2 separate regions of the Homo sapiens genome follow, and region 2 is linked to region 1. The links are contacts of gene promoters, found by promoter capture Hi-C in blood cells and fetal thymus (Javierre and others, 2016). All regions are on one chromosome and are shown on one strand. The core of a region is centred on a gene start or on the middle of the fragment in contact, and the rest is flanking DNA. Distances in the headings are between cores, read along the strand shown. Region 1 holds the start of OR5AU1 (olfactory receptor family 5 subfamily AU member 1). Region 2 overlaps RPGRIP1 (RPGR interacting protein 1).

What was found. Contacts are between HindIII fragments. The CHiCAGO score rates a contact against its expected background, and 5 or more counts as called.
Region 2: a fragment that was not itself captured here is called in contact with the fragment with the promoter of OR5AU1 in region 1 in 1 of 17 cell types (activated CD4 T cells); the score reaches 5.1 in activated CD4 T cells.

The regions. Positions count from the first base shown.
Region 1 is chr14:21,153,291-21,159,180 of GRCh38, forward strand. OR5AU1 (olfactory receptor family 5 subfamily AU member 1) reads right to left here and starts at 2,773. Exons shown (of 1, transcript NM_001004731.3): 1 at 1,575-2,773. The coding sequence starts at 2,582. The coding sequence ends at 1,647. The HindIII fragment of the contact is 1,266 bases long and covers 1,683-2,948 here.
Region 2 is chr14:21,345,874-21,352,213 of GRCh38, forward strand. It overlaps RPGRIP1 (RPGR interacting protein 1), which reads left to right. Exons shown (of 25, transcript NM_020366.4): 24 at 2,299-2,429; 25 at 5,231-5,428. The coding sequence ends at 5,343. It overlaps SUPT16H (SPT16 homolog, facilitates chromatin remodeling subunit), which reads right to left. Exons shown (of 26, transcript NM_007192.4): 26 at 5,603-6,340. Among named protein-coding and RNA genes, the nearest start is that of SUPT16H, 35 kb to the right of the region's middle. RefSeq lists a silencer at 3,299-3,478 and an enhancer at 6,111-6,340. The HindIII fragment of the contact is 561 bases long and covers 1,115-1,675 here.

The DNA.
Region 1 (5,890 bases), core at 1,523-4,022:
GGAGTTTTTTAATAGATTACTTGGAACTTTCTATATTCAGGATCATGTTATCTACAAATAAACTCAATTTTTCTTCTCCCTTTCCAATCTAGATGCTTTGTTTGTTTTAATGTACTTGCTACAATCTTCAGAACAATTTTAAATAGAGATGGCAATAGCAGAAAACTTGCCTTGCTTCAAATCTTAAGGGGAAAGCATTATTTCACTAGTAAGTATAATGTTGGGTGTAGATTTTTCATAAATGCCCAGATATTAGGAAATTTTAAAAAAATCCACTCATGGATTAAAGAATAAATGATAATAAAAATTAGAATATACACAGAACTTAATACTAAAAACACCATATTTCAAAACATATGGGATGCAGGCTAAATAGAATTTGAAAAAATTTGTCTTAAATGCCTATATTTAAAAAGAAGACAGCCAGTGCGGTGGCTCATGCCTGTAATCCCTGCATTTTGGGAGGCCGAAGTGGGCAGATCACCTGAGGTCAGGAGTTCAAGACCAGCCTGACCAACATGGAGAAACCCCATCTCTACTAAAAATACAAAATTAGCCAGACATGGTGGCTCATACCTGTAGTCCCAGCTACTTGGGAGGCTGAGGCAGGAGAATCGCTTGAACCTGGGAGGCAGAGGTTGTGGTGAGCCGAGATCACACCATTGCACTCCAACCTGGGCAACAAGAGCAAAACTCTGCCTCAAAAAAAAAAAGAAGAAGAAGAAAAAGAAGAAGAATGACAGGCCAGCATGGTGGCTCATGCCTGTAAACCCAGCACTTCGGGAGGCCAAGGTGGGAGAATCACTTGAGCTCAAGAGTGCAAGACCAGCCTGGGCAACATAGGGAGACCCCATCTCTACAGAAATTAAAAATAGCCCTCTGAAGATGAGTCTTATTTAGGGCATTTGGCTTTGTAGATGAAACTCTGTCATAGAGAGGGTCTTCTCTCCTTGGTTGGCTGGTTGGTTAGCTGACAAGCATTACCTGAGCAGCAATGGAAAATATAAGAGCAATATCCACAATTTGGTCTTGGGGATCTTAAAAATTCTAAGTAATGAAACAGTCACTCACCAAATATATATTCATAGTTTTCCATTTGCTTAGCTCTGTGTTCTCCCTATCAGGAATTTAGCCAGGTGTGGTGGCATGCACCTGTAGTCCCAGCTACTCAGGAGGCTGAGGCAGGAGGATCGCTTGAGGCCAGGAGGTTGAGGCTGCAATGAGCAATGTTCATGCCACTGTGCTCCAGCCTCGGGGGTGGAGAGAGAGAGAGAGACAGAGAGAGAGAGAAAGGAAAGAAGGAAAGAAGGAAGGAAGGAAGGAAGAAAGGGAGGTGGGGAGGGAGGGAGGGAGGGTGGGAAAGGAAAGGAAATACACTAACTGGGAAAAATGAATGAAGCATCTCAACATGGATTACTAAATCTTGCCAACAGGTTGAATTATGCAACAAGCAGACACACCCTTCTCACTTCTTAGTCTCTAGGACACCATCATTTCTTCTGTGGCAGGTAGATGCAGAAGCACCTGCAGACCAGAGGGCATGCCCAATATTCACAGGGGTGGGCATGGGAATGTGCTCAGGGTGACACCACCTAAGGTAAAAGTTCCCTTGACTTTCTAAAGATATGTGGTAATGCATTGAGAAATCATTCCATTGTTTTCCTACCCCAAACCTTTATTAAAGCTTTCTTCACATCCTTGTTTCTCAAAGAGTACATGAGGGGGTTCAGCACTGGGATCACCACTGTGTAGATGACAGCAACTGTGCGGTCCTGGGTCAAGGAGTAGCTGGACCTGGGGCGCAGGTACATAAAAAGTGTTGTGCCAAAGAAGAGGCAGATGGCAGTGAGGTGGGATGCACAGGTGGAAAATGCCTTAAACCTGCCCTGGGCCGAGCTCATTTTCAGGATGGTGTTGAGAATTAAGAAGTAGGAGATCAAGATGGTGAGGGTGCAGCTCAAAAGGTTGAAACCAGCAAAAATGAAGAGCAGGATCTCACACAGTGAGGTGTCTACACAAGACAAGGACAGGATGGGTGGCCCATCACAGAAGAAGTGAGTGACGACATGAGCACCGCAGAATTTCAGACTAAAGATACAGCCAGTGTGGATAAGAGAATTGAGGAATCCTGCACTGTAGGAGCCCACAATCAGCGAGGCACAGACCTCAGGAGACATGATGGTTGAGTAGAGCAGGGGGTTACAAATAGCGGCATAGCGGTCATAGGCCATGGCAGCGATGAGATAGCACTCACTGGTGGCAAAACCCGCATAGAAGAACATCTGAGTCATGCAGCCAAAATAAGAGATCACTTTCCTCTTGGCCAAGAAGTTCACCAGGGTCTGGGGCACAACCGTGGAGGAGTAGCAGAAATCCAAGAAGGAGAGGCTCTTCAGGAGGGAGTACATGGGTGTGTGCAGGGTGGCACTCACATGGATCAGGAGGAACATGACCAGGTTCCCCAGCAGAGTGGCTGTGTACATGCCCAGGAACACCACGAAGAGCAGCCTCTGGAGCTGGGGGTCAGTGGTGAGGCCCAAGAGCTCAAACTCCATCCCTTGGCTCAGGTTTGCCCCTTTCATCCTTCTCCAGTGCTCTGCGATGGAGAAAGAAGGCACCACCATAAATGAGGTTGAACACCTGGGGCTCTGACTGGGTTTAATTCTGCCTAAGGACAGCCTTCTGAAGATGAGTCTTATTGAGGGCATTTGGCTTTGCAGATGAAACTCTGTCATAGAGAGGATCTTTTCTCCTTGGTTGGTTGGTTAGTTGGTAAGCATTACTTAAGCAGCAATGGAAAATATAAGAGAAATATCTACAATTGGTCTTGGGGATCTTAAAAATTCTAAGTAATGAAACAGTCACTCACCAAGTATATATTCATAGTTTTCCATTTGCTTAGCTCTGTGTTCTCCCTATCAGGAATTCAAGAGTGCCTGACCTTGGGAAGCTTATATTCTACAGACAGTATATTTTGTGTTTAAGCCACACATACTGTGGTATCAGACTGCTAAGGTTCAAAGTTAGGACTTTGCCATTAACTAGCTGTGTAATCTTGGGAATGTTACTTTACCTTTCTGAGTTTCCATTTTTCCATCTGTGAAATAGGGATAATAGCAACTGTCTATAAAGATTATTATAAAAATTCAATGAGTTATTTCATGCAGAGAAGTTGAACAAATTCCAGCACGTTGAGGAAGTTCAAAGAAGGTTAGCTATGAGCATGCTCACTAAGAAGATAGATCCAAAACCTAAATAAACATGATAAATGAGATGAACCCACAACAAAGCTTAGCAAGCAACCTACCACCTAACAGTATAGACAGAGACACACGTGCTATGCAAGCGTGACTAAACAGGCTTTCAGAGAGGCTGTAGATGGCTGATGGGTCAGCTATAAAACTGGCCCTGTGAAATCAGCACTACCCAGGCAATAATGTGAATACTTAAGGTAACAAGGGCTGAGAGTGTGGAGAGATGGAGGTAGTGTAAGACTGCATGTGGGAGCCTCCACCAACGGGAGAGTCTCCTCATCATCCATAAAGCTGCCCATCATTTCCAGAGAACAAAATCACCCTGGACTCAGAGGATGTTATGGCCAGTAGGAAAGGAACGAAGTGAGTGAGTCTTTGTGAAAATGCCTTTTCTATTTAGAGAGTGAACAAAGCTTGAATGCATCACCTAAACACCACACTCTCCTCTGTTCCATTGGCTCCTCTACCACGTGTCTTCCCAAGTTACCTCTGGGTGCTGAGCCAGTTAAGCACCCTGTGCTCTTGGGTGAAGACTCTCAGTTACAAAGACTTTGAAGCTAACAGATGTGGCTGAGTAGGACAAAAAGGGGCAAAAGTGAGCTGCCTCATCCTGCCCTGAGGAGAGTAAGCGAATAACACACCTGTGAAAAGTGTTGGGAGAATTTGGAGAGGAAAGAGCTGGATTGAGCAAGCAAACATTCTGACGAATTCCAATGACATAATTTCCAGAATCATCAAACTACCTGGGCAGGAGAAGATTCTGGACATATGTATAACTAAATTTAGTTGTCAGGCAGGGAATGAGGCACCATTTGTGTTGATAGAATACTGTGACTGGTGACAAGAAAAAGGCTTTTAGAAATGCCCAAAGAGGTAACATGCCCTAATAAAATTGAGACACAAAATATAAGTGCAAATTTGAACACAGAACATTAGCAACTGCTTTTAGAACTCATGGAATGCAATTCTGTGACTTATTTCATGTCACTTAGATGTAACATTCAGCTATCCTTACTCTAACAGCTGTCATTTTATAATAAATCTCACTATTGTAGAATGTGGGCAGTCCTAGATTTGGGTTGCAAATGTCTTTGGCGCCATTGGTGACAAAGGCCAATTCGACTTCAAGGCAAATTAGAGGAATTCAGATAAATGACTGTAAAACTCCCAGAGTGGAAATAACTTGCAGGCACTTTAAGAAAATAGAAAGGTGGTCATTAGGAGTGGAGTAGAATTTTCAGACCCAGCTTCCCATCTTCTTTCCTTGGTGGGCTGTTTCAATTTAGGTAATAGGTCTGCAAGTATCTCTCTGATTAAAAGAACAAAAGAAGAGAAAAATAGAAATATGTGCAATGCTCCAGACAGTATGGATGAGGCAGGAAGCATACACTGGGGTGGAGTGGTGGGATGGGATGGGGTAGGGTGGTGGGTAATACAGTGGATAGCTGATCAGAGCCTCCAGATTTATCATTTACTTTAAACCCACACTCTCTCTTCTGCTCCCCTCTCCTCTTTCATCTCTCTTCACCAATCTGCACTAAATTCAAAATTCTTAAGAATATAGAGTGACTCAAGGAAAGGATTATGGAGAAATTGGCATCTCTGACAGTTGTTCAAAGGATGCTGGAATTACCACTATTTCTATTGGCTATTGTTTGTACCTGTGAATGAAATGTAGGAGGAAAACTTAAAGATGATCTTATCATATGGGAGTGGATTATGGAGTGGAGTGCATAAGAGTGAGAGCAAATGCCTGGGGCCTGTGGATGAGGGAGGCATAGGAAAGAAGCTCTGTTTATACCCGACTCATTGCCCCCATCCCTGGGATAGCACAGTGAGAGCACATGTGGATATGAAGGGCAGGCAGCCAAGAAAAGCAGCCAGTGAGATTCCCTGAGCAACAGTGATCCCAAACAATGGTTCTTAAACAGTAAGCTGCCTTGCCCAAGGTTCACAGGAGAAGCTTGTTACATGTGCAGATTCCAGGTCCCAACCCACAGAAAATTTGATCCAATAGGTCTATAGCTTGGCCCCAAAGTCTGGTGATTCTGACTGAGACAGGAGGTCTCTGAACCTCACTCTGAGAAACACTAAACCATGGGGTACTTGCAGGAGCAAACAGATCTTCCTGAGCCACATATACGTATCTCTTCCTAGCTTGCTGGATTTGTCCGTGTCCTGGGAAATCAGCCTGTGGGTAGGATGGTCATCCTGGACATGCTCTTCCCTCCAGAAGACCTATCTGTGGTTAACCATTTCCGGAAATCTGGGTTACTACCTGATGATAATCTAACACCAGAGCATTTCTTCCTTCAAAGTAGCTTCAGATGTCCTTCAGCAAACCATGTAATTCCAGCAAAGCACCTGGCTTGATGTCAGAGCTGTTGCTGTAGGGGTCAGAACACAAGTCTTCCATGGAAACACAGCAAAGACAAAGCCAGACTCTGCATTCATAGACTGAGTCTGGGGATCAGAGCCTGTCACCGACTTTAGTCTTTCACGTTGTCAGAGGTGTGAGGCAGCCCCACTCCCTGTGAGCTCCTCACAGCTGATCTTGTGCTGGCAGGAGCAACCCCAGAGCCATCTTTTCCCCTGGCAGCCCAGCAGCTCACCACTGGGGAGGAGGATGTGTTCAC
Region 2 (6,340 bases), core at 145-2,644, 190 kb after region 1:
CAGTGGTACAATCTTGGCTCACTGCAACCTCCACCTCCTGGGTTCAAGCGATTCTTCTGCCTGAGCCTCCCAAGTAGCTGGGATGACAGGTGCACGCCACTTGCCTGGCTAATTTTTGTATTTTTAGTAGAGACAGGGTTTTGCCATGTTGGCCAGGCTGATCCCAACCCCAGGTGATCCTTCTGCCTCAGACTCCCAAAGTGTTGGGATTACAGGCGTGAGTGACCACACCTGGTCAACAGGAATTTTTTGATGTTGACATAACTAAGTGAATTTTAGATCTCCTTTAAAGTTTTAGGAAAGCTGGTTGTCCTTATTATTCCAATAATCTGAAGAAGGCCTCCTTTCAGAGTTTCCAGATAAAATGTGGGACATACCCAAAAAAAAATTATTTGGTCGGGTGCAGTGGCTCACATCTGTAATCCCAGCACTTTGGGAGGCTGAGGCGGGCAGATCACTTGAGGCCAGGAGTTTGAGACCAGCCTGGCCGACATGGTGAAACCCCATCTCTACTAAAAACACAAAAAAATCAGCTAGGCATGGTGGCACATGCTGGTAATTCTAGCTACTCAGGAGGCTGAGGCATGAGAATCATTTGAATTTGGGAGGCGGAGGTTGCAGTGAGCTAAGATTGTGCCACTGCACTCCAACCTGGGTGACAAAGCAGACTCTGCCTCTAAGGAAAAAAAAAAGTTATTTGTTGTTTAGCTGAAATTCAAATTTAAATAGGCATATGGTTTTTGTTTTTGAAATCTGTTATCCATACCGCCTGTGCATGTGTGTGCATAAGAAATAATATGGGGCTGGTGTTTTATCTTATTTTTAATTTTTTTGTTTGTTTGTTTTAGAGACAGGATCTCACTATGTTGCCCAGCTGGTCTTTCAGCTCCTGGGCTGAAGCAGTCCTCCTGCCCTGCCTCCCAAAGTGCTGGGATTATAGGCATGAGCCACTGTGCCCGACCTGGTGTTTTAATTACTTTTTGAAAGGCCCAATACTTTTGTTTCATCTGCTTTTACTTTGTCTTTGGTTAGTCATAGAAAGAACTGAAAAAGGAGCCAGATGAAATAAACAGTGACTCTGACTTCAGCATCACTGTGGGCTTAAACAGATGTAAGCTTACAGAGAACTTTTGGACATGGAAAGTGATTTGGTTCTTTCCTTTCTGTGCTAATGTCAAATTTAGCTTTCACTTTTTTTTCCCCAGCATTTCCAGAACTCTCTCTTCCTTTATTCCCTTACAGTGATAATCATTTTCTACTCAATTTTAGATTCGATTGGTATTACCTTTGGCTTTCTTTTTGCCAGTATGGTCTAGCAGACAGAGCAGGCTTTGTAATCAGACCAACCTTGTTTTTATTCCAGACTCTTTGACTTACTAGCTCTTTGATCTTTTTGATATTACTTAATTTGAAGGCTCTTGTGAGAATAAAATTGAGCTAATATAGTTTACATAAAGCACTTGGTATTGTGCCCGGCACATTGTAATGCTAGTTATCATCCCTTTCCTATGCAAATTGGGATGAGGGAGTCAGCATTATCACTTCGCATTGTTGAAGTTCTCAATAATGACATAGAAACATAGTTACAAATGAATATTGCCTAATGGGCTGAGAATGGATCCCTTTAAAGTAATTCCTTTGTTTCAGTTTAATCATATTTAGCTGTGCTTTTAAAAGCTTGAATTTTTAGTCCTATTCCTGGCACTCTGTATTAGCTACCAATATTTGCTTTTAAAAATTAATAAAAATATGAAAAATCAAGAATAGGCAAATCCAGAGAGATAGAAAGTAGATTAGTGGTTCAGGAGCTAGGGAAGGAGAATGGGGAGTGACTGCTTAATCAGTACAGGGTTTCTTTTTCTTTTTTCTTTTAGAGACTGGGTCTCGTTCTGTCACCCAGGTTGAAGTGCAGTGGCATGAACACAGCCCACTGCATCCTCGACCTCCTGGGCTCAAGTGATCTCACCTCAGCCTTCCAAGTAGCTGGGACTATAGGTGTGTGCCACCATGCCCGGCTAATTTTTTATTTTTTTTGTAGAGACGGGGTGTTCCTATGTTACCCAGGCTGGTCTTGAACTCATGGGCACATCCCATGATGTTCCCTCTTCTAAAAGGACTGTTACTGCTTAAATTATACCAATTCCTGACTTTTTTGCTTATTGTCATTTTGTAAAATGGAGGCAAGGGAAAAGTGATTCAGAGAAGACGTTGTATTGTTTATGATTACTTTTATCCTTATTTTATTTTTGAAGCATTAAGAGTATCAACAGTGCTGAATTAAATGCAATTTCTTTTTAGTTTAAAGTTTACAGTGGTAAGTGATCCTCTGGATGAAGAAAAGAAAGAATGTGAAGAAGTGGGATATGCATATCTTCAACTGTGGCAGATCCTGGAGTCAGGAAGAGATATTCTAGAGCAAGAGCTAGACAGTGAGTCATTTTTTTTTCAGTTCTAATTATTTCCAAGGAAATCATCCTAATAGTGAATATATTTTATCTTCAATACATAATTATTACTATGAAGTTGATAAGACACAAAGTGGATTGAAATCTTATCCCTACAACTGTATTTATTTCTGGATCCAACATTAAAGTAGTCAGTTGTGTATTTTTACCCCCATATACCTGATTACAACTAGAATTGATTTTGAATCTACAATGTTTGAAAAGGAGATTTTTAAAAAGACAAGTTATTTTCATTTCAAATTTATACATCAGAATTTTGGACCTCTCTTGAGCATTTTCGTATAGGCAGCTGATGCCCATTCTTTATGTTATCATGCATCCAGTCTTTTTTTTTTTTTTTTTTTTGAGATGGAGCCTCACTCTGTCGCCCAGGCTGGAGTGCAGTGGTGTGATCTCAGCTCACTGCAACCTCTGCCTCCCAGGTTCCAGCTGTTCTCCTGCCTCAGCTTCCTGCCTCAGCTTCCATGGTGTGCCACCATGCCTGGCTAATTTTTGTATTTTTAGTAGAGACCGTGTTTTACCATGTTGGCCAGACTGGTCTCGAACTCCTGACCTCAAGTGATCTGCTTGCCTTGGCCTCCCAAAGTGCTGGGATTGCAGGTGTGAGCCACTGCACCTGGCCCATCTTGTCTCTTAAAAAGACATTAACTGTCTCCTCTTTCCTCACATTCACTGGTCATTAAGTCTTATCCATTCTACTTGTGAATTGACTATGCTCTCCTTACTACAATTTTTTTTTTTTTTTTTTTTGAGACAGAGTCTCTCTCTGTTGCCCAGGCTGGAGTGCAGTGGTGTGATCTCGGCTCACTGCAACCTCCACCTCCCAGGTTAAAGCGATTCTCCTGCCTCAACCTCCTGGGTAGCTGGGACTACAGGCACCTGCCACCACGCCAGCTAATTTTTGTATTTTTAGTAGAGACGGGCTTTCACCATGTTGCCCAGGCTGGTCTCGAACTCTTGGACTCAAGCAATCCACCCTCTTTTGCCTCCCAAAGTGTTGGCATTACAGGCATAAACCACTGCGCCCGGCCTCCTTAAATATAATTACTATAATTTCTTTCTTTTTTTTTTTTTTTTTTGAGATGGAGTCTTGCTCTTGTTGCCCAGGCTGGAGTGCAATGGACCGATCTCAGCTCACCACAACCTCTGCCTCTTTCTTAATCAAGCGATTTTCCTGCCTCAGCCTCCCTAGTAGCTGGGATTACAGGCATGAACCACCACGCCCAGCTAATTTTGTATATTTAGTAGAGATGGGGTTTCTTCATGTTGGTCAGGCTGGTCTCGAACTCCCAACCTCATGTGATTCGCCCTCCACTCAGCCTCCCAAAGTGCTGGGATTACAGGCGTGAGCCACCGCGCCCAGCCATATAATTTCTAAACTGGTCTTCCTGCCACCGGTTTCTTCTACCCCATTTCCATCTACTATAGTAAATACATAATACATTTGATCACTGCCTTCTTCTTAAATCCTTTTACAGTTTGCTATAGATCAGCATGTTTTAAAAACATTTGTATTTGAGTACCTTTAGTTGGGACTGCGCTGTCCAGTCTTCACTGTTCCCATTACCTTACATAGCTGGGATGTCACCTATCTTATCTGCTAGGACCTTCAGACACTTAAGATTATCCACTAGATCAATGTTTTTCAAACTTCCAGACACACACCCCATTAGTGGATGTGAAACTGAATTAGTAAATCACAAGGAAATTTGAAAAATGCAAACCAAAACTGTGGGAAAGAAAACAGGAATTAAAGGCCAGGCGAGGTGGCTCATGCCTGTAATCCCAGCACTTTGGGATGCCGAGATGGGCGGATCACCTGAGGTCAGGAGTTCGAGACCAGCCTGGCCAATATGGTGAAACCCCATCTCTACTAAAAATACAAAAAAAATTAGCCAGGCATGGCGGCGGACACCTGTAATCCCAGCTACTCGGAAGGATGAGGCAGAATTGCTTGAACCCGGGAGGCGGAGGTTGCAGTGAGCTGAGATCAAGTCACCGCACTCCAGCCTGGGTGACAGAACAAGACTCTGTCTCCAAAAAAAAAAAAAAAAAAAAGAAAACAGGAATTAAGAGTACATAGCACATATTGTCTTGTGAAACTTGTTTTATGTATTGTTTAATGAATCATGGTATAAAATTATTCTTACTGATCATTATAAACATTTTTTGAGGAATACTCCTCAGACCCTAAGGTTTACAAAGTTCAAATGTTAGATAAGATTCTAATTATATTCCTCTAGTATCTTTCCAACTGTGATCCTTAGTCTTTTTCCTCATCTATAAAACGGGAATAACAGCAGTCTCTATCTTACTGAGTTGTGAAGATTAAGGAAGCACTTAAATAAGGGATTAAGGGGCTTAGGGTAGTGCCTGGCATAAGGCAAGTGACGTTATCTTTGTGGGCTATTTTCCAACTCACTCCTATCCCCATTCCTAAACATGCTATGTTCTTCCTGACCTCCATGCCATTTGTATGTGCACAGGGAAAATCCACTTAAGACTTTTCTGGTGATTTCTCCAGAAATCCTTTCCAATTTGTCCATTCTGGTGCAGATGCCTCGTTATGTCCCCAAAGCAACTTGTGCTTCCATTTATTATATAGCACCTATACACTATACCATTTTCCTTTCTCCTTCACTAGATTGAGTCCTCTTATGAAATGGGTAATTTCATTCATTTAGCATCCCCAGTACCTAACCTGACAAATACCAAGTATCAAAGTGTTCAACTGAGTGATGCTGTTTTTTTCCCTTTCCCAACAGTTGTTAGCCCTGAAGATCTGGCTACCCCAATAGGAAGGCTGAAGGTTTCCCTTCAAGCAGCTGCTGTCCTCCATGCTATTTACAAGGAGATGACTGAAGATTTGTTTTCATGAAGGAACAAGTGCTATTCCAATCTAAAAGTCTCTGAGGGAACCATAGTAAAAAGTCTCTTATAAAGTTAGCTTGCTATAACATGAATTTGGTTTACTGTGATGTCTAGTGTCTCTCAATCTAATGATGAAAGTTTAGAATGATGAAAGTTTCATTTGTAAAACTAGCTAGCTAAAGGCATTTTTCTCCAGTACCTTAGCACTTTACCAGGCAGGAAGCAGGCTTGCTTTCAAGAACTGAAAATGAACGGTCACAGGTGAATTTACAAAAACAAACAACAAAAAAAACCCAGTTTATTCATCTTTTAGTTCTTCCAAAATTGAAAATATCAAGTCCTACTGCTAAGGAGAAAAAACAAACAAACATAAAATCCGGGACCCCTCCCCCCTTCTTCTCTTAAAGTCACAGAGCACGGAAGGAACTGCAGTGGGACAGGTGGGTGCAGAGAACCAGAAGGGGAGGATGGCAAGATAAACTCCCCAAATACTTGAAAAGCTGTTCAACAGAAACTGTGATAAATACAGGACAATGCAAGACAAAGTTAAAATAAGGAGCAGCAGTGCCGAGAGGCTGTGTTGTAGATATGGCCTCCCTTCCTCTTCTCTTTTCTCATCAGGGTATTCTAGGCCCAAGGCATGACTTGTCCCTTCCAGATATAAATGTTGACTCCTTTGAGCCTTCCTCTACATTTCACTAGAAGCGGTACATGAGGCACAACCTGATATATCTTCCTTAGATATATGAGAAAAAAAAGAAGACAGTGGCAATTTTGCCTTCTATCATTGTACCATGTGTGCATTGTATGGAGAAAATAACCGAGCCAGGGAGTATCACTGCTTCTTATGTCTTCCAAGGCAGCAGATATACCTCAGAATCTGCACGAGGCAGGAAAGCAGGAAAACTCAGACGAAGGCACCAGCCCAATCTGCCTCACTGGCTCAAGCTGTATGGTTTATCACAACCATTAGCAAATTTCCGAGAACCTTGAGTATTGCAAAG